7 separate regions of the Homo sapiens genome follow, and regions 1, 2, 4, 5, 6 and 7 are each linked to region 3. The links are contacts of gene promoters, found by promoter capture Hi-C in blood cells and fetal thymus (Javierre and others, 2016). All regions are on one chromosome and are shown on one strand. The core of a region is centred on a gene start or on the middle of the fragment in contact, and the rest is flanking DNA. Distances in the headings are between cores, read along the strand shown.

The links. The method cuts DNA at HindIII sites, captures the fragments that hold promoters and counts their contacts. A CHiCAGO score of 5 or more calls a contact.
Region 1: a contact is called between the fragment with the promoter of FNBP1L here and the fragment with the promoter of RPL5 in region 3, in 2 of 17 cell types (total CD4 T cells and fetal thymus). The highest score is 9.3, in total CD4 T cells.
Region 2: a contact is called between a fragment that was not itself captured here and the fragment with the promoter of RPL5 in region 3, in 13 of 17 cell types (M2 macrophages, naive B cells, megakaryocytes and 10 more). The highest score is 19.7, in M2 macrophages.
Region 4: a fragment that was not itself captured here is called in contact with the fragment with the promoter of RPL5 in region 3 in 1 of 17 cell types (total CD4 T cells); the score reaches 5.5 in total CD4 T cells.
Region 5: the fragment with the promoter of BTBD8 here is called in contact with the fragment with the promoter of RPL5 in region 3 in 1 of 17 cell types (naive CD8 T cells); the score reaches 5.3 in naive CD8 T cells.
Region 6: a fragment that was not itself captured here is called in contact with the fragment with the promoter of RPL5 in region 3 in 14 of 17 cell types (naive CD8 T cells, activated CD4 T cells, naive B cells and 11 more); the score reaches 18.4 in naive CD8 T cells.
Region 7: a fragment that was not itself captured here is called in contact with the fragment with the promoter of RPL5 in region 3 in 1 of 17 cell types (naive B cells); the score reaches 5.1 in naive B cells.

Annotation. Positions count from the first base shown.
Region 1 is chr1:93,446,712-93,449,502 of GRCh38, forward strand. FNBP1L (formin binding protein 1 like) reads left to right here and starts at 1,407. Exons shown (of 17, transcript NM_001164473.3): 1 at 1,407-1,594. The coding sequence starts at 1,571. RefSeq lists silencers at 281-575, 1,515-1,564 and an enhancer at 1,056-2,034. The HindIII fragment of the contact is 14,675 bases long and covers 1-2,791 here.
Region 2 is chr1:92,309,513-92,312,212 of GRCh38, forward strand. All of the region lies in intron 6 of RPAP2 (RNA polymerase II associated protein 2), which reads left to right. It also overlaps a transcript of GLMN not described here. Among named protein-coding and RNA genes, the nearest start is that of RPAP2, 12 kb to the left of the region's middle. The HindIII fragment of the contact is 1,151 bases long and covers 846-1,996 here.
Region 3 is chr1:92,830,590-92,833,289 of GRCh38, forward strand. It overlaps RPL5 (ribosomal protein L5), which reads left to right and starts at 1,451. Exons shown (of 8, transcript NM_000969.5): 1 at 1,451-1,528. The coding sequence starts at 1,526. It also overlaps a transcript of DIPK1A not described here. RefSeq lists enhancers at 1,200-1,249, 1,253-1,891, 1,420-1,739, 1,892-2,529. The HindIII fragment of the contact is 14,223 bases long and covers 1-1,995 here.
Region 4 is chr1:91,982,039-91,984,920 of GRCh38, forward strand. All of the region lies in intron 12 of BRDT (bromodomain testis associated), which reads left to right. Among named protein-coding and RNA genes, the nearest start is that of BRDT, 34 kb to the left of the region's middle. The HindIII fragment of the contact is 2,193 bases long and covers 329-2,521 here.
Region 5 is chr1:92,078,815-92,081,631 of GRCh38, forward strand. BTBD8 (BTB domain containing 8) reads left to right here and starts at 1,531. Exons shown (of 18, transcript NM_001376131.1): 1 at 1,531-1,906. The coding sequence starts at 1,758. RefSeq lists an enhancer at 2,804-2,817. The HindIII fragment of the contact is 1,063 bases long and covers 1,082-2,144 here.
Region 6 is chr1:91,998,563-92,001,262 of GRCh38, forward strand. The region is part of intron 15 of BRDT (bromodomain testis associated); the gene reads left to right. Among named protein-coding and RNA genes, the nearest start is that of EPHX4, 30 kb to the right of the region's middle. The HindIII fragment of the contact is 1,349 bases long and covers 682-2,030 here.
Region 7 is chr1:92,289,812-92,292,511 of GRCh38, forward strand. It overlaps GLMN (glomulin, FKBP associated protein), which reads right to left. Exons shown (of 19, transcript NM_053274.3): 4 at 1,607-1,726; 5 at 387-495. Among named protein-coding and RNA genes, the nearest start is that of GLMN, 7.8 kb to the right of the region's middle. The HindIII fragment of the contact is 228 bases long and covers 1,291-1,518 here.

The DNA of each region.
Region 1 (2,791 bases), core at 157-2,656, 620 kb after region 3:
CACAGGCTTTTCACTGCATGGTACAAAGTTAAGCATTTAAAAATTGGCTATAACCCACTTGGAAGAGGGCATTTGTATGCTTAAAGTGGCCTCAGAAAAGGACAGCAGAGAATTTAGGAAGATTAGCAACTGGACTGTCAGGCGAACTCAGGCTGTTGGCCTCAACTCCAAGAGGGAGCGCAGCTAGGCAAAAGAATACGGATTAAGCGGAAGAGGTTGGAACACCTGTCCAGGCCAGGTAGGGGAGGAGTTTCAATGCTGACAAAGAACCCGTTGGGAGAGCTTCCTAAAACACCCAGCTGTCATGACGCACTGAGGAGTACTCTACTAGTTGACTGTTTTGAAGTGTGTGTGTGTGCGCTTGCTTGCTTTAGGAGACAAGCTATTAATACTAAAGCATATGTTAGGGAGTTGCTCAGCGTACTTGATATCTAGTAGCACCAGCCAAACTAGCTAACAGCCTTTCCATGGAGATAGGCCAGGAAGTAGCTCCATAGAGAAAAAAGGAAGTAGTGGACCTGCCTCCAAGGTTCCGATACTGGGAGGTGAAAGAGATCTGAAGTTCCGAATAAGCTGTTTACACTACCAGAGAAAAATCTGGCTCCCATCCAACCCTCACCCACGAGGTGCCCATTCCAGACATGGGGCAAGCTGCCTTCTCATCTTCCGCAGGTGACAGCTCGGCTCACATTTGTCCACGTCTTCCATCTCGTGCGCTGGCAACATACCTAAATGATTACTGGAAGAGCTGCCTCTTTTTATAATTTCCTGACAGAATTTATAAAATTAAAATATTTAATTAAAGACAGAATCGGGGACATGTTGCCTTCACATTTGCTGTTCAACCTGTGCACATTTTGGTGGTTCCCAAGAATCGTCATGCCAAAGCATCAGGCTTGAAAGGAGAGATCACCTTAAGCATCAAGATTTAAAAAAATAAAACACAACTCTCCTCAGTCTAAACTCTAGGATTTGGATGACGCTTCCCTGTCAAGGTTTCTCCCGAGTGGAGGAGACAAGAGGCAGGAAAGGCAGGTAACTAAAATTGCCTCATGTAAAGGGGCTCAGCGCAGAGGAGGAATGAGATAATAGCGGCGGTGGGGGTCTTTTCCCTTCTCTCCCTTTCTATCTTGGAAACAGGGGTCCGACTGGCAGCGGAGTGGGGGCAGTCCAAGCTCCGGGGTACCTGCAGGAGGAGACTCGACCAGCGAGAGGGGCCAGCGAGGGTGACCAGGTGCCCGCTTGGGGACCCCGCCGGCGGTGGCCAGGCTAGCCCAGGTCCTCCCCGATCCCAGGATGCACTGCGCCCCGCCCCCTCCCCGCGCCGCGTTCCGCCTCCCCTCGGCCCCGGCCCCCTCCCGCCCAGCGCGGGGAGGCGGGGACGCGTCGGCGGCGGAGGCTTCTCCAGTCGCGTCTTTCTCACTCACTGGGGAGCCCGGCGGTGGCGGCACCTTTCGAGGTAGACCCGCTGAGCTGCTAGCCCGCCGGCCAGCGAGTGAGAGGTCGGACAGACTGTGGAGCCGACAGACTGAAGGACAGCGGCACCGCCAGACGGCCAGAAAGTTCCGCCATGAGCTGGGGCACGGAGCTGTGGGTGAGTCGGGGAGAGGGGCGCCCCGCACGGACCCCGGCCCCTGAGAAGCGCGGGTTGGGCGGGCGCCGCGGACCCTCGGCGGTGAAAGCGCGCTCCGCCGTCCTCGGTCCGGCGCTGGCGGAGGGTGAGGGTCCCGCTCGTCTTTGTGTGCAGACTCCTCTTCCCTTCTCGGCCGGGGGTCTAGGGGGCCGCTAGTCCGTGCTCCCGCCTTTGCCGCCGTGGTGCAGCTCGGGCGGCGCCCGGGACGGCCGGGGGAGCAGCCCGCGGGCTCCTGCGTGCGCCGTGATCCCCTCTTGTTCCTTCTCCCTCCTCCACCTTCACTTTTCCCGACGCCTGGCTTCGCGCCCGGCGGCTCCTCTCTTCCTTTGTATCTCTCCTCCCGGAGGCGGGGGAGGGGGCCCATTGTCCCCAAGGGGCGCTGTTCGAGGGCGGGGAGGGGACCGGCCGCGATTCCTCGCCCGGGCCAGGTCCGCGGGGCTAGGGCGTCGCCCGTCTGGGGCGGCGCCGCCCAGAGCCCTCGCCCCAGGTATGGGGACCCAGGCGGCTTTGTTCGGAGCCCGGCCTCGGGCCAGCCAGGCCCAGCCCACACGCACATTTCTCTCTCCCTGCCTCAGTGCTTCGGGCGGGCACAGCTTCGAGGGACTCCGGTTTGGCCACCCCCGGCTGCAGCCTTTGGGCTGGTGGGTTGGTTTTGGGGGCTGAATTAAATCGAGTGATCGATGAGGAAGCTAATTTTACCAAAAGGAGCGTACGGTCTCCCTGTTGCTTTACTTCCCTTTCCGTTCTTTATTCTCACTTGTTCTTTCTCCTTCGTTCTCTCCTTTCCTTTCCTCCTTGCCTTTCTTTGGCACAGGAGGCTCCAGACAATGCCCAGTGTCTGGCCAAGGTACGGGCGGAGGGTAATAGGTCGGAGAATTTGCTCCTGGCGCCGGCGCGGAAGGGTCGAGGTGTGGAGGGCAGTGATTTCTCAGGTGCGGAGGGCAGTGATTTCTCAGGTGCGGCCGGGAGAACTGGGGGCGTGGGGGCGCTGTCCCGAGAGCCGCCTGGCCTCAGCCACTCCCCTTTTTATTCCACCTGTGCCTGTTTTCCGTGCCTTTTGTTCGCGAGGATCTCGTGAAATCACTGCAGAGAAAGGGGAGAAATAACTTTTGAGTATGTGTGTGCCCAGCTAGGGTGGGAGTGAAAGCCAATGGGTTA
Region 2 (2,700 bases), core at 171-2,670, 520 kb before region 3:
AGTGCTTAGTACCTGGCAGGCTACACACATACACATACACATACACATACACATACACATATACATATACATACACATACACATACACATACACATACACATACACATACACATATACAAGTATAAAACCCAACCTGTGAATTTAACAATCACTGGATGCCAGAACATGAATTAAACAAGTTTGTGTTGACTTTAATGGGGACCTGTCCTATAAATTAGCAAGGTTAGGACATTGCATAATGAGAAACTGTGAGCAAAAGTGAGAAAATAAACTTGTGGGAATGGGTTGGGATATTGAACATTGGCCCACTTGAAATTTGGGAAACGAGAAGATAACAATAGGTAAATAACAAAGGGCCAGGCTGAGTGTGGTAAACCCTCAAGTATTGGGGAGCCATCAAATGTTTTTGAGCAGAATTTATTCTGATATTGGTGTACAAAATGAATTAAAGAAGAATCATAATTAAAAGAGCTAAAAGGGTCCTTAGAGAGATTTAATCCAACCCCTTCATTAAGTGTATTTCTTAAACTAGTGATCCGTATGAGACCAGGATTCTATTTATTATATTCCACTTGATTAGAAGGAAACAGTGAATAATCTATATATATGCATCTGCCTCATTGTATAGCATAACTGTAGCCCTTAATTATATATAACACTTGTCAGTGTATAACCATATCAGTATCTTTTATATCTGGATGCATTTGTGTTACCTTAATTTCCAAATTCTTAGGGGCAGGGATTATGTCCATGCTATTTAATGAATCCACTAGAGGTCACTGTTTTTTCAGACATCTTTTTACCTGTGCCAAGGATCAGAATTCTAGAATTTTGTATTTTTAAAAGCTTGTCTAGCTATTGCACATTTAAGCTCTACAGAAATGTGATATTTTAAAGAATGTCTGTTTACATATGGCATGGGATACAATATCCTGAGTCAGTCTTCCTTTAGGGAGGAAAAAATTGCTTCTTTTAAATGGTGGCATGTAGTATTTAATGCAGAGATATTTTTATTAGCTTACAATGAGTCATGATAAAGAATAAATTGCATCATAATAGTAATTTTAATAATCATAATTTTAAAATAATAATAAATTTTTATGGCCAGGTGTGGTGACTCACGCCCGTAATCCCAGCATTTGGGAGGCCGAGACTGGTGGATCACCTGAGGTCAGGAGTTCAAGATCAGCCTGGCCAACATGACAAAACCCTATCTCTACTAAAAATATAAAAATTAGCCAGGAGTGCTGGAACATGCCTGTAGCCCCAGCTACTTGGGAGGCTGAGTAAGAAGAACCGCTTGAACCTGGGAGGCAGAGGTTGCAGTGAGCCGAGATCACACCATTGCGCTCCAGCCTGGGCAACAGAACGAGACTAAGAATAAATTGTTAAATCCACCCAAAAGATTAGATATCTTATTGAAATGACTTCCAAACTTTCGACCACTATAATAAGTGCATTTTACATTATCTCATATATGCATATAACTAAAACTAAAGCAAAACTTCTGTGAAACAATATTATTCTTACTACATGAAATGCCTCTGATATTTTCTACTCTGTTGCTTTTTTAAAATGCTGGCAGCAACCTACTTAATTGATTGGTCCTGATCTGCAGTTTGAAGAGCGCTGTTTTGTTGGATTTAGCTCACGTTTTTGGTTGTTTTACTGTAGGAAACCTGCTTCTCAACACTAAGTCTCAGTTTCCTCATTTGTAAAAGGAAAAAGTTGCATTCAACTTCCGAGTTCCCTTTGGTTCTAATGATTTACAGTTCTAAGCCAATTGTGTCATTAGTCATTGCTACTATAGAGAAAGTTTTCTACATAAGGAAATATTTATTAAAATGATGAAAATTAAAATTATCTGCTTAAGACTAGAGAAACTTATACTACCTTGTAGAAAGGTCTGTCTCAATAATTTTGAATAAAGTTACTGACTTTAATAATTTGATCTCTTTAGTCTGTAAAAGTGAAGGCTGATAAAATGTAGATCAAAGCTTTTAAATTATGAAGAAAAACCAGGCATGTTTTAGAGCATGTCCTGAACAATTTGAACTTGGCATCACTGAGGATGCCATGACCTTACACACCATTTGGAAACAGAATATTGAATTTGACCTAATTTGGTCTTTCTTACATTATTGTGAAAGCCAGTAAGTACAGGCATATCTTGGAGATATTGCAGGTTTGGTTCCAGACCACCACTATACTAAAGCAATAAAGCAATCATGGATTTTGTTTCCCAGTGTATGCAAAAGTTATGTTTCCACTATACTGTAGTCTTTTAAATGTGCAGTAGCGTTATATCTTTAAAAAATAATGTACATACCTTAATTTTAAAATATTTTATTGCTTAAAGATGCTACTGATCATCTGAGCCTTCAGCAAGTATTAATCTTTTTGCTGGTGAAGGGTCCTGTTTTGATGTGGATGGCTGCTAACTGATCAGGGTGGTGGTGTCTATAGGTTGGGATGGCTGTGGTAATTTGTTGAAATAAGACAACCCCAGGTTTGCTGCACTGATCGACTTCCTTTCACTAAAGATTTCTCTGTAGCATTAGATGCTGTTTGATAGCATTTTACCCACAGCAGAACATCTTTCAAAATTGGAGTCCGGCCAGGAGCAGTGACTTATGCCTGTAATCCCAGCATTGTTGCGGGGCAAGGCAGGAGGATCACTTAAACAAGACATTTGAGAC
Region 3 (2,700 bases), core at 201-2,700:
CCCAAAATGCTGGGATTACAGGCCTGAGCCAGCACATCCAGCCTGCTTCATGACTTCTTTCTTTTTTTTTTTTTTTGAGACGGAGTCTCACTGTCGCCAGGCTGGAGTGCAGTGGTGTGATCTCGGCTCACTGCAACCTCTGCCTCCTGGGTTCAAGCGATTCTCCTGTCTCAGTCTCCCGAGTAGCTGGGACTACAGGTGCGTGCCACCATGCCCGGCTGGTTTTTGTATTTTTAGCAGAGATGGGGTTTCACCATGTTGTCCAGGATGGTCTCGATCTCTTGACCTCGCGATCCGCCTGCCTCGGCCTCCCAAAGCGCTGGGATTACAGGCGTGACCCACCGCACCTGGCCTGAGCTACCGTGCCCGGCCCACAACTTCTAAATATTCAGATGAATAGTATGTGGGTCTTCCTATGAACCCTTGCCCTAAAACATGCAGAAGTTAGGAGTCGGCCTGTTTCCAGGCAGACTTTCCTTCCTGATGCTTTTGCCTCCAGTGTAAGCAGGGCCTGACCAAGACATGGAGCACCTTTGGTAGGCTAATAACTTGATAATCCACCAAAATGAAGGTTTTTAAATATTTTCTATAAATACGAATTGAATACCTCTTTCTTTACCCTTTCAAAGGTGGCTCCACAAAAGTAGAATCACACTTCCTGTGAAAAGTGTTTTAAGTTTTCTCCTCTAGAGCTCTGTTGACATCGGCCATAGCGAACTCTGTTTATTTTTCCTATTATATAAGGAATTACAAGTTGGAATCAGAAGTAATTGGCATCCTAATCCTGATTTATTCTAGTGGCAGTGTTTTGGAGTCACTTAACCCTGTCATCCTGGTTGGCCGTCCCTTCTCCCAGCTCTAACGGTGAGCAGCTGATACCCTGCTAGGTGCTGGAGAGTCAGAGGTGGACATCAGGGCCCACCTCGAAAAGTTGACAGTCTGTGGTGGGCTGAAGCCAGTAGAAAGCTGCTGTAGGAAGGCAGAGGAGTGGCCCCTATCCCAGGCTTGGGGCTCTCAGGGAAGGCTTCCTGGGGGTGAGATGGGAGGGTGGGTCCATATGCTCTTGGACCAGAATGAGTAGCCCAGAGAAGGCAAGAGGGCTCCCAAGCAAACTTGTCCTATTTAATTTTTTTTTTTTTTCCTGCTTAGAAAAGCAAAATGCGTTATGAACAAAACAAAACAAAACAAAACAAAACAAAACAAAACAAAACAAAACAAAACGCTGTAGCAAAGAAAGCGAAAGGCTCCAGTAATCCTCCCTGCTCCTCCTCACCGCACGGATCCTGTGAGATACCCCGAGCATTGGAACCTGGAGAGCTTGGGCAGGCATTCACCCTCCTTCCAGCAGGGGGCGGAACGTAAAACGCCTTGTGGCCGACGCCCTCTCTCTTTCACACGTCACTGGCGTGACCGTCCGCGCTACATACTGCGCCTGCGCAAGGGCTGTGGCCCTTTTCCCACCCCCTAGCGCCGCTGGGCCTGCAGGTCTCTGTCGAGCAGCGGACGCCGGTCTCTGTTCCGCAGGATGGTGAGTGGATGCCTCGGTCTCGGGGCTTTAGATGCATGGAGGTTCCCTTTTCTTGCCCGTATGCCAGCCTAGGGCCCGTCTCGCGCGTCGCAGGGGCCGGATGGCGTTAGATTGCTAGCTCTGACTTGGTCGAGGTGCAGTTCCCAGCGTGGCCTTAAATGGCTGCCGCCCGGTGCGCGAACTTGGGGGGAGGGGTTGGCGAAGAAGGGTTGCGTGAGCTTGGACGGCGGATTGGGGAGAAGGGTGAGTTTAGTAGACAGCCTGAGTGCGGATACTGCCGTCTAGTGTGAGGGGGCGCTGGCAAGCGGCCGGGCGTGAGAGGTCGCAAGCAGTCGACCTCAGCCTAGCTGGGGAACGCCAGAATGGAGGGGGGCTGCAGGTCCTCGGGTCCCACTCGACCTCCGAGTACCGAGTACTTCGTGGGTTTTCCAGGAGAATGTCGGAGCCGGCAAGTCTTAGATTTAGGAAGCTTGTGCCCGTGGGCTGAGCAAGTGGCTTTTAAGCCAAAATTGTCAGTGGAGCTTGGAGGCCGAGGGGTCCCTGGGCCCCGGAAGCTCCTTTAACATGGAATACGTGCCTCCTGCCTCTTCCTCTAGAGTCCGTCGCCGGATGAGTTTTTAATTATTGGGGTAGGGCCCCAAGGGTGGGATGAAATGTTGCTTTAGCTGATGGGGAACAGTGCTGTTTTAGTGGGGGAATTACTGCTGAATGTGCTCTTGCCCAGTTAAGCTTTGTGGCAGGTAATTTAGGCTTTTGAAAAACATAACATGGGAAGCGAGAGAGGTACGTAGTTGTTATTTGAGGCTAGGTTTTCGAAGTGGGACATAGCGTGTTCCGAACAAACCGACGTTTGGCATCACTGATTGCTGTCTGGAGCAGTGCTTCGCAAAAGTTTGGCACAATTACCGGTGCTGGTCCTTGAAGAAACAAATATGGAAATTGAAAGCGTTTAAAACCTTTTGAAAGCAATATAACAATAATTTTATACCTGTTAAATGTAATAAATTGGGGCCTGCATTTTGTATGTTTCTTTTATTCCATATTTCTCTAAGGATTCATTTTTATTGTTTTATGAAACTACTAGTCTGTGACATGGAAGGTAGAGGAAAAAGATTCTTGACCCTAGTTGCTTGTGAAACCTGGGATTCTACAAGTGACAGTTGTCTGTTTAC
Region 4 (2,882 bases), core at 175-2,674, 850 kb before region 3:
AAAATATATCAGATAATAAAATAATGACCTTTACTTGTTTTATAAAATAAAAGATTATTTGAGAGCACCTTTCGCTTTACTCTCCATGATCTATCAGATCACTCTAATGTTGCAAGGTTGCCATGTTGTGATACTATGTTCTGAATTGAATAATCCTTTTGAGTTAAACCAGTCATCCCAGAAGCTGTGAATCAGATTTTTTTTTCTACTTCTTTGGTTTCTTCACTGTAGAGTATTTTCTTCCATCTATAGAAAAATGTACTTTAAATTCAGATTCTCAGCTATGCTCAAGTGCCATATTATCTTGTATAGTTTAGCAGTTGTATCAAGCTTAGGTCATTTATGTTTTCTTTGTGCTTTTCTATTAATGATTACACAGTTGATAAGTAATCACTACCCCAAGAATACTGACTTGGCAGTGGTGTTCCATCTTTATTGACCAAAAGGCAAATTCAGAATTTGGACACTGTTGTCCCTAAATTTTGCTTTATTTTAAATGAGGTGTTTCTTGTGAAATTCAATTCTCTTTTTAAAGAAACATCTCACACAGAATATTGTGACATCAGGAATTCTTAGCATTATTAAAAGCATCCCTCTTTTTTTCAGTGTGGTAGTATGGTCTGCTGACTTGCAATACATTCTATTTAACTCTTAGTTCTGTTTAGTTTGCATTTATATGGTGCTGATTGCTGTATTTTGTTTTTACATTTCTAAAGTATGTAGTGATAAACATTTTTGGAGAATAAACAGAATTTTTACTTTGGGATTTGTCATACTAGAAAATTTAAAAATGTAGGGCTCTGATTATATAGTATTTCCTTATTTGACTTCTAAGCATAGAACAATACTGGAATAACTTAAGTTGCATTTAGTATTTTCAATTGTAATTAGCATTTGTAACTTCATCTAATAAAGCATTTGTGGTCTAATAAGTTAGAGCACTTTGTCTTTTATTTGTAGGATAAAAGTCTTACTGTTCCTGTTAGTTTGAATTATCTAATTATAATAAATGCTTCAAGTGTTAGAGGAAAAGTACAATATAATACAGAGTTTTCAATAAAGTACCTTAATTTTAATATGAATTATCAGTTTCTGATACAATATTATTATATATTGCTTGGAGGAAAGAATATTTATCACTAACTTGTGTTCTTAAAATAGTGCAATATATACTCTCTGTTTTTCTAACATTCTATCAGAATAACTCAGTCTCAGAATTCAAATCTTTTTTTTTTTTTTTTTTTGAGACGGAGTCTCCCTCTGTTGCCCAGGCTGGAGTGCAGTGGCGCTATCTTAGCTCACTGCAAGCTCCACCTCCTGGGTTCACGCCGTTCTCCTGCCTCAGCCTCCCAAGTAGCTGGGACTACAGGCACGCCCAGCTAATTTTTTGTATTTTTAGTAGAGACGGGGTTTCACCGTGTTAGCCAGGATGGTCTCGATCTCCTGACCTTGTGATCCACCCACCTCGGCCTCCCAAAGTGCTGGGATGCCAGGCATTAGCCACCACGCCTGGCCTAGAATTCAAATCTTAAAACATTGCTGTGTTGAATTTTTATTTTATGGCTGACATTTTTGTTTAATGTCATCTTTTTCAATTAAAAGGAGTTTTAAAATATATAATGTTGAAATCAAAGTAGCAAGTTTTTGTTTTTTTGGTTTTTTTTTTTTGAGACGGATTCTCACTCTGTCGCCCAGGCTGGAGTGCAGTGATGTGATTGTGGCCTCCTCCGCCTCCTGGGTTCAAGTGATCCTCCTACCGCAGTCTCCCAAGTAGCTGGGATTACAAGTGGATGCCACCACACCCAGCTCATTTTTGTATTTTTAGTAGAGATGGGGTTTCACCATGTTGTCCAGGCTGGTCTTGAACTCCTGACCTCAAGTAATTCTCCCTCCTTGGCCTCCCAAAGTGGCGTGAGCCACTGTGCCCAGCCTGAAGTGGCAAGTTTTTATATTTGAACCTACATTATAAATAGTGTACAATTTGTGACACAAGGTCAATTTGTCTTCTGATAATGTTAGTTGTTTATTTTTGAAATTTTAATTGTTTTATGAACAAACTGTGCTTTACTGGAAAAACACTTTATATATGTTATAAATTGCAAATGCAAAGACAAATGGGAAAAAATTATATCTTTGCTTAATACTAAATGAAGTAATTGGACCTTTTGTCCTAATTTTTTTTTGCCTTTCTCCACATATTCTAATGTTCTAAATATCAATTTCAGTTGCAGCTGTTATTTTAAAGGCTCTTAATTTCTAGCATGTAAACTAAGAACATTTTTTACTTCCCTGGGAACAACAACACACACAAAAAAAAGCCCTGAAAATTGTGAAAAATAAGCAAGTCAAATCATATCATTAGCAATATCTACTATAAAAATAAAGCACCTACTATTCTTAATTATACTAGTAACATTCTCAAGGAACAGATGGCAAATTCTATGTCAAAGTTTCAAGCATGGGCAGAATGAGGCTATTTACTAAGAAAATTTAATTTATGAAAATTAGGCACATCAGCAAAAGCTTTATCTGCTACATCAGTAAAAATTGACTGAAAATATGAATATGAAAAATAAAATATAAATATGAAAAAATAATTAAAAAAAATTTTTTTTGAGACAGGGTCTGGCTCTGTCGCCCAGGCTACAGTGCAGTGGCACTATCACGGCTCACTCCTCTGCCTCCTGGGCTCAAGCCATCCTCCTGCCTCAGCCTGCCAAGTAGCTGGGCCTACAGGTGTGTGCCACCACGCTGGGCTAATTTTTGTACTTTTTTTGACAAAAATGTATAGGGTTTCAACATGTTTCCAAGGTTGGCCTTGAACTCCTGAGCTCAAGTGATCCGCCCAGCTCGGCCTCCCAAAGTGCTGGGATTACAGGTCT
Region 5 (2,817 bases), core at 281-2,780, 750 kb before region 3:
GACTAAATTTGCCAGTCAAAATATAAATACTGCCTGGGTTATAATACACCATTATTATGGTGTAACACACCATATATTATAGTGTGATATATGACATTGTGTGACCTTGGCCAAGTTTACCTATCCTTTGTATGCCTCAGCTTCCTCATCTGTAAATAGGTCTGAAGACAGTACCTAGCTAAATGGTTGTTGTAAGGATTAACTGAGTTAAAACACACAGAGCAAATAGAGTAGCGTTTATCACATAATAAGGATTCAAATATAAGCTACTATTATGTTATCTTTGACACCCCTCGTTTCTACAGGAATAATTAAGAATCAATTATCCATCCAAGCATTTGGGAATTAATTTTAAAAAATCAATTATCCAGTTATATTTTTCAGAATTAAGATGTCTGAATATTTGAGAGGGGGCATTATCTGAAGAAATGGTTACCTCTTGGCCAATCTTATGGTACAAATACAAAGTCCATATATTCCCCTCCCCGCCTCCTTTTTTTTTTTTTTTGTTTGGTAGAGACAGGGTCTCCTTATGTTGCCCAGGCTGGTCTCTAATTCCTGGGCTCAAGTGATCCTCCCGCCTTGGCTTCCCAAAGTGCTGGGATTACAGGTGTGAGCCACCGCAACCTGGCCAATGTATTTTCCAAGCAATTACTATTCTTCACCTTGTGTGTAGAGTTTGTGAATGAAACAGATTTTTTTTTTTTTTTTTTTTTTTGAGACAGGGTCTTGCTGTGCTGTTCAGGCTGGAGTGCAGTGGTGCAATCATGGCTCACTGCAGCCTCGACCTCCCGGGCTCAAGCCATCATTCCGCCTCGCTTCCCAAGTAGATGGGACTTGCCCGGCCCGAAGCGGAACTACTGAGTTTCCTTATTTTGGAGGCAGTAATCAAATAAAAAATACCAAAACCTTAAATGATAATCAGTTTGCTACTTTATTTGGGACAAAAGAGAATTCTATATTTCATCCATCCATCACTTCACTGCTCAAAGACTTTGCCCCTTACCTATTTCTCCCTTCTTGGTCATAAATGTTAGGGCTTTATATGCAAAGCCCTGTGCTTTCTCCGATCAAGTCCAAAAGCTTGTATGAGCCACTCCTTGGATAAGAAGGGGATGGGGCCTTCTAGATGCTGTAAGTATCTCTTATATTGAACTCAGAATTGTTCTGACTGGCAGTTTATGAAGTTCTTCCCCTACTCCTCCCATCGCCAATTTTTCTTGCCCCAAACATTTATACCTCAGGGTTAAGAAGCCAGGTAAGTGAGGGGGTGTGACTCGCCCAGTCTTTCGTTGGAAAAAAGTGTAGACCTGTCAGGAAGACACAGCATAGAAAGGCTGCATGTGCTGATTTGAACTCGAGCCTCAGTAAAACATTGAAATGAATGAACACCAACCGGAAGGGAAAGAAGAGGGGAGGGGATAAGGAGCCTGAGGATTGGTTTGCCCCGCGGGATGGTCCGCGCCTGAGCCATGGGAGGCGGGGTGCCCGCCGGCAGAAGTAAACAGAGCGAGTACGCCTGCGCACGCTCTTCCTGGGTCAAGAGCCGGCTCGGTTCTGGGATTCTGAGGCTCCCCACCGCGGTCCGGCTTCTCTGGGAGACTGTCTACAAACCGACGAGAGGCGTCAACCTTTTACCCTAGGGGGCGGATTTGGGTAGGAGCCGAGCGTTCGGTCGGAAACGCCCCCTTCTTCCTCCTGGGCGGGGCAAGTGAGGCCAAGTACTGGGCCTCCAGGGCGTCGTACCTCTGTGAGACATGGCTCGCTGTGGGGAAGGCAGTGCGGCCCCCATGGTACTTCTGGGGTCCGCTGGAGTTTGCAGTAAGGGGTTGCAAAGGAAGGGGCCGTGTGAGCGGCGCCGGCTGAAGGCGACGGTGTCGGAGCAGCTCAGCCAGGATTTGCTCAGGTAGGAGGAGGCGGGAACTCTGGCTGCTTCAGTTCCTAAATCGCCCACCTCCGCCCCGAAGCTGAGGCTTCTTTCGGCTCTGCCTCCCCCTCCCTCAGCACTTGGTTCTCCTCGCCTCAGGCGACTGCGGGTCGTTAGCCAGTCTCCCCACTATTCCGAAAAGTGGCTTCGCTCGCCCTGAATAAACAATCCCGAGCACCTCGACACCATGTACCAGATTCAAAAGGAAAACAAAAAAAGCTTAGTCGTGTGCAGCACTAGTTTGCTAGAAATATCTCAACACAGGCACGCTTAGTTGTTTCCAATCACTAAGGTCGGGTGGATCCAGGTCCTGAAACTTACACAATTTTTAAAATAAGCTTATACTATTTTAAGAAAAATAATAAAATTAGGAAAACGATTATTTGAAATGAGGAAAGAACAATACTATAGTCTTGGAGGTCTCTTCTGAGGTCTCTTTAAACAATTTACCAGAAATGCTTCCTGATTGCGACCTGGATTCCTCTCTCCACCTAGAGCTCTCTGTAGCTCCCAGCAACTCTCAGCTCCTGTGAGGACCAAAGCAAATGGAGGGTCTTCCTGACATTTAACCTTTGTAAGCCTCATGGATATCCTTCTCGGGTTATTGGGAATCCAGCTAAAGTAATTTCAGCTTACAAAGAAATTGAAGCTTAGAAATATGACCTAGCTAATTTACATTTCCAGCAAGACATTGATTCTTAAACTTGGGTGGGCATCACTGAAATTTTCCATTTCTAACAAGGCCCCAAGTGATGCTAATGCTGCTGGCTAGGGTGACTATGAGAACCACTGAGGTAAACATAATTACTAATAATTAAAAGTTGTGCAGCATTCTACTTTTTTTTTTTTGGAGACGGAGTCTCGCTCTGTCGCCCAGGCTGGAGCGCCGT
Region 6 (2,700 bases), core at 106-2,605, 830 kb before region 3:
ATGAATTCATAATTGCAAATGAAAAAGTAAATCCAGGAGTTTGCTATCTCATAGGAGAAATAAACAACTGGTATATAAAGTAAAAATAATGTGCCCTGAAAGAACCTAAAGTGAAGTTTAAGGAGGTGAAGAAGGCAGAATCACCTGATGTGTTTGGCAGATACATATTTTACAGAATGAGTATCATTTGAGCTGGATAGTGCAGAAAAAAAATAAGGCTTACCTATGTTTATTTAGTATGGAAAGGCATTTGGATGGAGGAAGCAACATGAATGTGAAGGTATTTAGGCAACTCATAATTCCATGTGATTAAAGATTTGGTTGGATTAAACAGGAATGTGGAAAATTACAAAGGTAGACCAGGTTTAGATCATTTAACCCTTTAGATACTTTGGACTTAATTATAATAGCATAGTCAGTGGGGAGGCAATGAAGGTTTTTTTGAGTGAAGGTGTGCCTCTGAGTGATTAATTTGCCAATATTATTTAGGTGAGTTGAAGGAAAGGAGAATATAGAGACCAGAGAAGGGAAGGAGACCAGCTGGGCTGTTGCAGTAGTAGGGAAAAAATGACATAAAGTGATAGAAGGAAAGAGAAGGGGAAAGTTAAAAGAAATTGCAAGAGTAGAATGGGCAGGTCTGCAAAATATGAAAACATGCTGGGTTAATAACCCAGGGATATAAGCTTCGGTGGCTCACAGGATACTGGCTGGATACTGTCCAGGTTGACAGACCCGGGACACAAGATGAAGAATAGGCTTCTGAGGAAAGATGAGTTTTGTAGTCTTTTGAGGTATCACAGGGTCATTCATGTAAAAATATTTTTCAGAGAGTTGGACCCTTGACATACTTCCTAGGCTTTTATGACACCTCTCTTAACAATCCCATCTGTCTGTTCCTTACAGATATCTCTTTATTTGCCTCCCTTTAGATGTTGATAATTCTCTGAATTGCATCCTTAAGCCTCTCTGTTTTTTTCATCTACCCCAGAATTTCCCAACCATGTTTCAAAGCACAGTCTTACTGAATGAATGTCCCCTCAGCTCTTATAGCAATGAGCTGGGAGCAGCCTTTCCATTTATGCAGGTGGCCATACATTGATCATTTTCTATATATCATGACATGGAAAAGGTTGGAAGCAGTGCTCTATACTTGGGTGATCTTTGGCATCCATGACTTCTAGTCTCATTTTTACAATTCAAATGTATCCAGGCCCCAGGCATGTTTATACAACTCTACTAAATGTCTTTACTTAAACATCACATAGGCATTCCAAACACAGCCATGTAAAAACTGAATTCCCCCTTTTAGTCCTCAGATTGTATTTATTTTTTTGAGACAGTCTGCCTGTGTTGCTCAGGCTGGAGTACAGTGGCGCAAATATGGCTCACTGCAGCCTCAACCGCCTGGGCTCAAGTCATCCTCCTACCTCAGCCTCTCAAGTAGCTGGGACCACAAATGTGTGCCACCATGCCCAGCTAAGTTGTTATTTGTTTGTTTTGTTTGGTAGAGATGGGATCTCACCATGGCTGGTCTCAAACTTCTGGGCTTAAGGAATCCTCCCGCCTTGGCCTCCCAAAGTGCTGGGATTGCAGGCCTGAGCCAGTGCACCCAGTCTGGTCCCCAGATTTTAATCCTTCCTCTTTAATTGTCAATAATGGCACTATCACCACTTACCAACTTAGAGTCAGCAAATTAAGGGTCACTTTAGAATTTCACTTACCATACATACTTTTTCTCCTTCCTAAATAATCACTGACAGGAAGCAGAGAAGGGAAGGCAGTCCTATACTTACAGCTTTTCTCACTATTTTTTCCCTTTCCTTGTTGAAGTGAGGAAACATGGCTACATTGAGGCTGTGTACAGACGTACAAATTAAAAATGTGAGCTTTTGTTCTGCATTCTTTGACAGTGTTTTGTCTTGCCCTCCTATGCTCACTGCTATTCCTTGATGTTCCTTGCTCTCTTCTTCTAACCTCAACCTCAGTATGATTTAGCCAGAGAATCAGTCAAGGGATTGATGGATGGTAGAAGCTTAAATGTAAGTCCCTATAATATGTAAGTGGCCAGGATTTTGTTAGTTTGGGTTAGTTAACAAAGACAGCAGCTCAGTTTTGATTTGTCCCTCTTGTTCTTCAGCCACGAATTAGAACCTGTAGACTATGACTAGAGAGAATTGAATCAAGTGATCAATTAAGTTTCACGCATCAGGATGTTCCATGTTGCAGATGACAGAAAACTCAGCCCAAACTGATTTAATAAAGGAATTTTGTTGGCATACATAAGCAATAGTCCAAAGATAGGTCAATCTTTTAGTCATGGCTTGATAAGGGCTCACACTCTGTAGTTAATCTTCACAATAATAATAAATGAAATATTTGCATGAAAACTTAAGAATTAATGAAATTGCATAGTTTGTTCTCCTCACCTCAGAGTCAGACTTACTGCGTTTCACATCCCTGTTCCCTTGGTAGCTATTTTGAGTGTCTGGTATCTTAGTTTCCCTCTCTGTGTTTTTTTGTCTCCAATTGGCCACCCAGGCAGCATCTTTCCCTTGGAAGCCCTGCACTGGCTTAGGTCTGCTCTTCCTAAATGAGTTACTGATGGTGAGATAGAATTACCAGGATTGGCTTGGCCTTATTAAAACCCACCTCTAGGCTGGGCGCGTAATACCTGAGGATAGTTATTACATTTTAGTCATC
Region 7 (2,700 bases), core at 155-2,654, 540 kb before region 3:
TGCCTGATACTCTTCCAGACTACCATAATGCTATCAGATTTAGTACTGCAGACACCACAGAGGTAACCCTTGAAACATGTTTAGAGAGAAAATTCTAGATTTAAGCAGCAGATAGGAAGGTTAGGCAAAAAGGTATAGTTTTCAATATAGCACATGAAAAATAGTATGACATTCAACAGAATATTTACTGGGTACCCACTCTGGCCAGATACTATAATCTTTCTATGAGCAGCAGTATTCACATTGGCATTGCTATTATTGGTTTAAGCAGAGTACTCACTAATTAGCTGTAAACTTTACTTTGGTGTAGTATTGACATTTTGAGGTAACCATCAAGGCATTTAGAGATACAACAAGAAGTACTCTGATATCAAAATTCTCATTACCTGTTTGTAATGGCTGAAGCAAAAGAAGAATACTTTGGGATATCTGTTTTCCAGAGGGCTCTTCAATCAGTTCAAGCAAACCCAACAATAATTCCTTTGGATTGCATAACTATAAAAATATTCACAATTGAACCTGTTTAATACAAGTTGTATTTAAAGCCACATTATTACTATTTTTAAGAAGGCATGTATCGACAAAATATTATACAATTATGTTTTTGCTTAACATTAAAATTATTTATACAATTGTTGAAAAAATATGCATGAGCAAAACACAGAATCTGTGATGGTCAAGTAACTATAAAACTAAAAAGCAAGAAGTCAATGGATCTTTAGGCTCAGGTTTCCTTTGAGCTTCACCTGTCCACTCTGAAATTGCCTTAACAGATTCTCAGGGGCTCCAGCAGGTGGGACCTTTCAATCCCATGCTGCAAGCCTATTTAGACTAGTCTGGAATCTCTTTTGTATTTTTTGAACAGGTAAAACTTTGCATTGCTTTCTGACTGGCCATATCTTATCATCTCACTTGACTGGTTTTTTAAAAGCTCCCAGCTCCCATAGTCAATAACTCATACAGATGGAGCTCTCCTTCCAATATATATTTGGGTATATTTGCACTGATCACTAAACAGTTTCTTATAATATACTTTTTCTCAGAATTTATCTTTCTTGGCCATCAAATATTGACTGTAAACTCTACTAGCCTTTTACCCAGGGTCGCTTTCTAAGGTTGTTAGTCACAACTGATCTGTATTCTACCCTATTCCTACTTCAATTTTAATCACTTGTATTCTAGGCCTTCCATTTTCTTTTAGGGAACATACCACAAAGGAAAGAGGACTGAGATTTTAATCTAGTTCCAATGTTGCCAAAAGATAAATGTGACCTTGAACTACCTCTCTAAAGCTTGTATTCCACATCTATACGATAAGGCTACTTGTTAAGATATAGCTTCCCAGGTCTCTCCCTGGAGATGCTGAATCAATGGGTCCGATATGAGGTTAATATGAGGTTAGACAATTCTTTTATCCAGAAAATTTGGGAAATCCTGAAATGGAATTGCCTATCCAATCAATAAGACTGGGTCTTTTCTCCAACGAGTTCCTTTCTGCATGTACTTTCATGAACCAAAAGCTTTCTTACCAAACAATAAACATTAAAGGGAATTATAAAATACTGCTGTGTGTTATGATAAAGAGAACCTTGTTTTGTTAACTTACCTTTACCAATAAATCAAAGATCAAAAAATAAACTTTTCTTTTACTATCCTCTTTATCTTTACACAAAAGGCATCGAACAACAGGACCAACGAGATTCCAGCCCATATTCTTGATGATGACCTGTAAAAACATTTTCAGAGTAAAGCAAACACTGCCATCTATAGGACTCTCGCAGTGTGCTTTCCTATCTTGGAAGAGCTCAGAATTGTTTCTGAAATAGGAAGATGAGACAAGTGAAGCCTATGACATTTCACCAGAGACTTTCCAGGGTTGGCTACTAACAGACATCAACATTTTTAAATAGTTTTTAATATGTTCCCTGAGGAAAGGCAAAAGGGTCTTTACTTTTTATCAGGCAAGTTGGTGTTTCCCAAGATTTAAATAGTGCCTCTATTTCCAACAAAAGAGTTAATTTGCTTAATACAGGTACTTAACTTCCACAGACAATTTTGCTCCCCTTATTCATAAAGAAATCCAGCCAATGCTCATGTACCTTTTAAAGTTCTTGGAGTCTCTAAATATAATCCTTGTAATTTATAAAAAAAAGAAGGGATACAACTTCATTAATTTTCTCTCCTACATACAAGTGGCTTCTATGTTCAAAGATATTTCAGAATGCTTACCATACAAGTAAAAGTTTATCTTTATAATGACTAATTCACATTCATTATCAAAACCACTAATTCTCAAAGGATCAACAATGTATTCCACTTCTCTGGCCTGCTTTGTATTTTAACTCATCAGTATTTACCAAGCCTACACTATAATATTCTAGAGGTTAGAAATAAAGTGAGGAACACACTGGATAAGATCACTACCCTCCTAGAGTCCTTCTTTAAAAGCACGGTGGTTGGCTGGGTGCAGTGGCTCATGTCTCTAATCCCAGCACCTTAGGAGGCTGAGGCAGGAGGATCACTTGAGCCCAGGAGTTTGAGACCAGCCTGGGCAACCTAGTGAGACCCTGTCTCTGTTTTTTAAAGTTAAATACATTCTTATTTATTTATTTATTTTGAAACTGAGTCTCGCTCTGTCGCCCAGGCTGGAGTGCAGTGGCGCTGTCCCAGCTCACTGCAAGCTCTGCTTCCTGGGTTCAT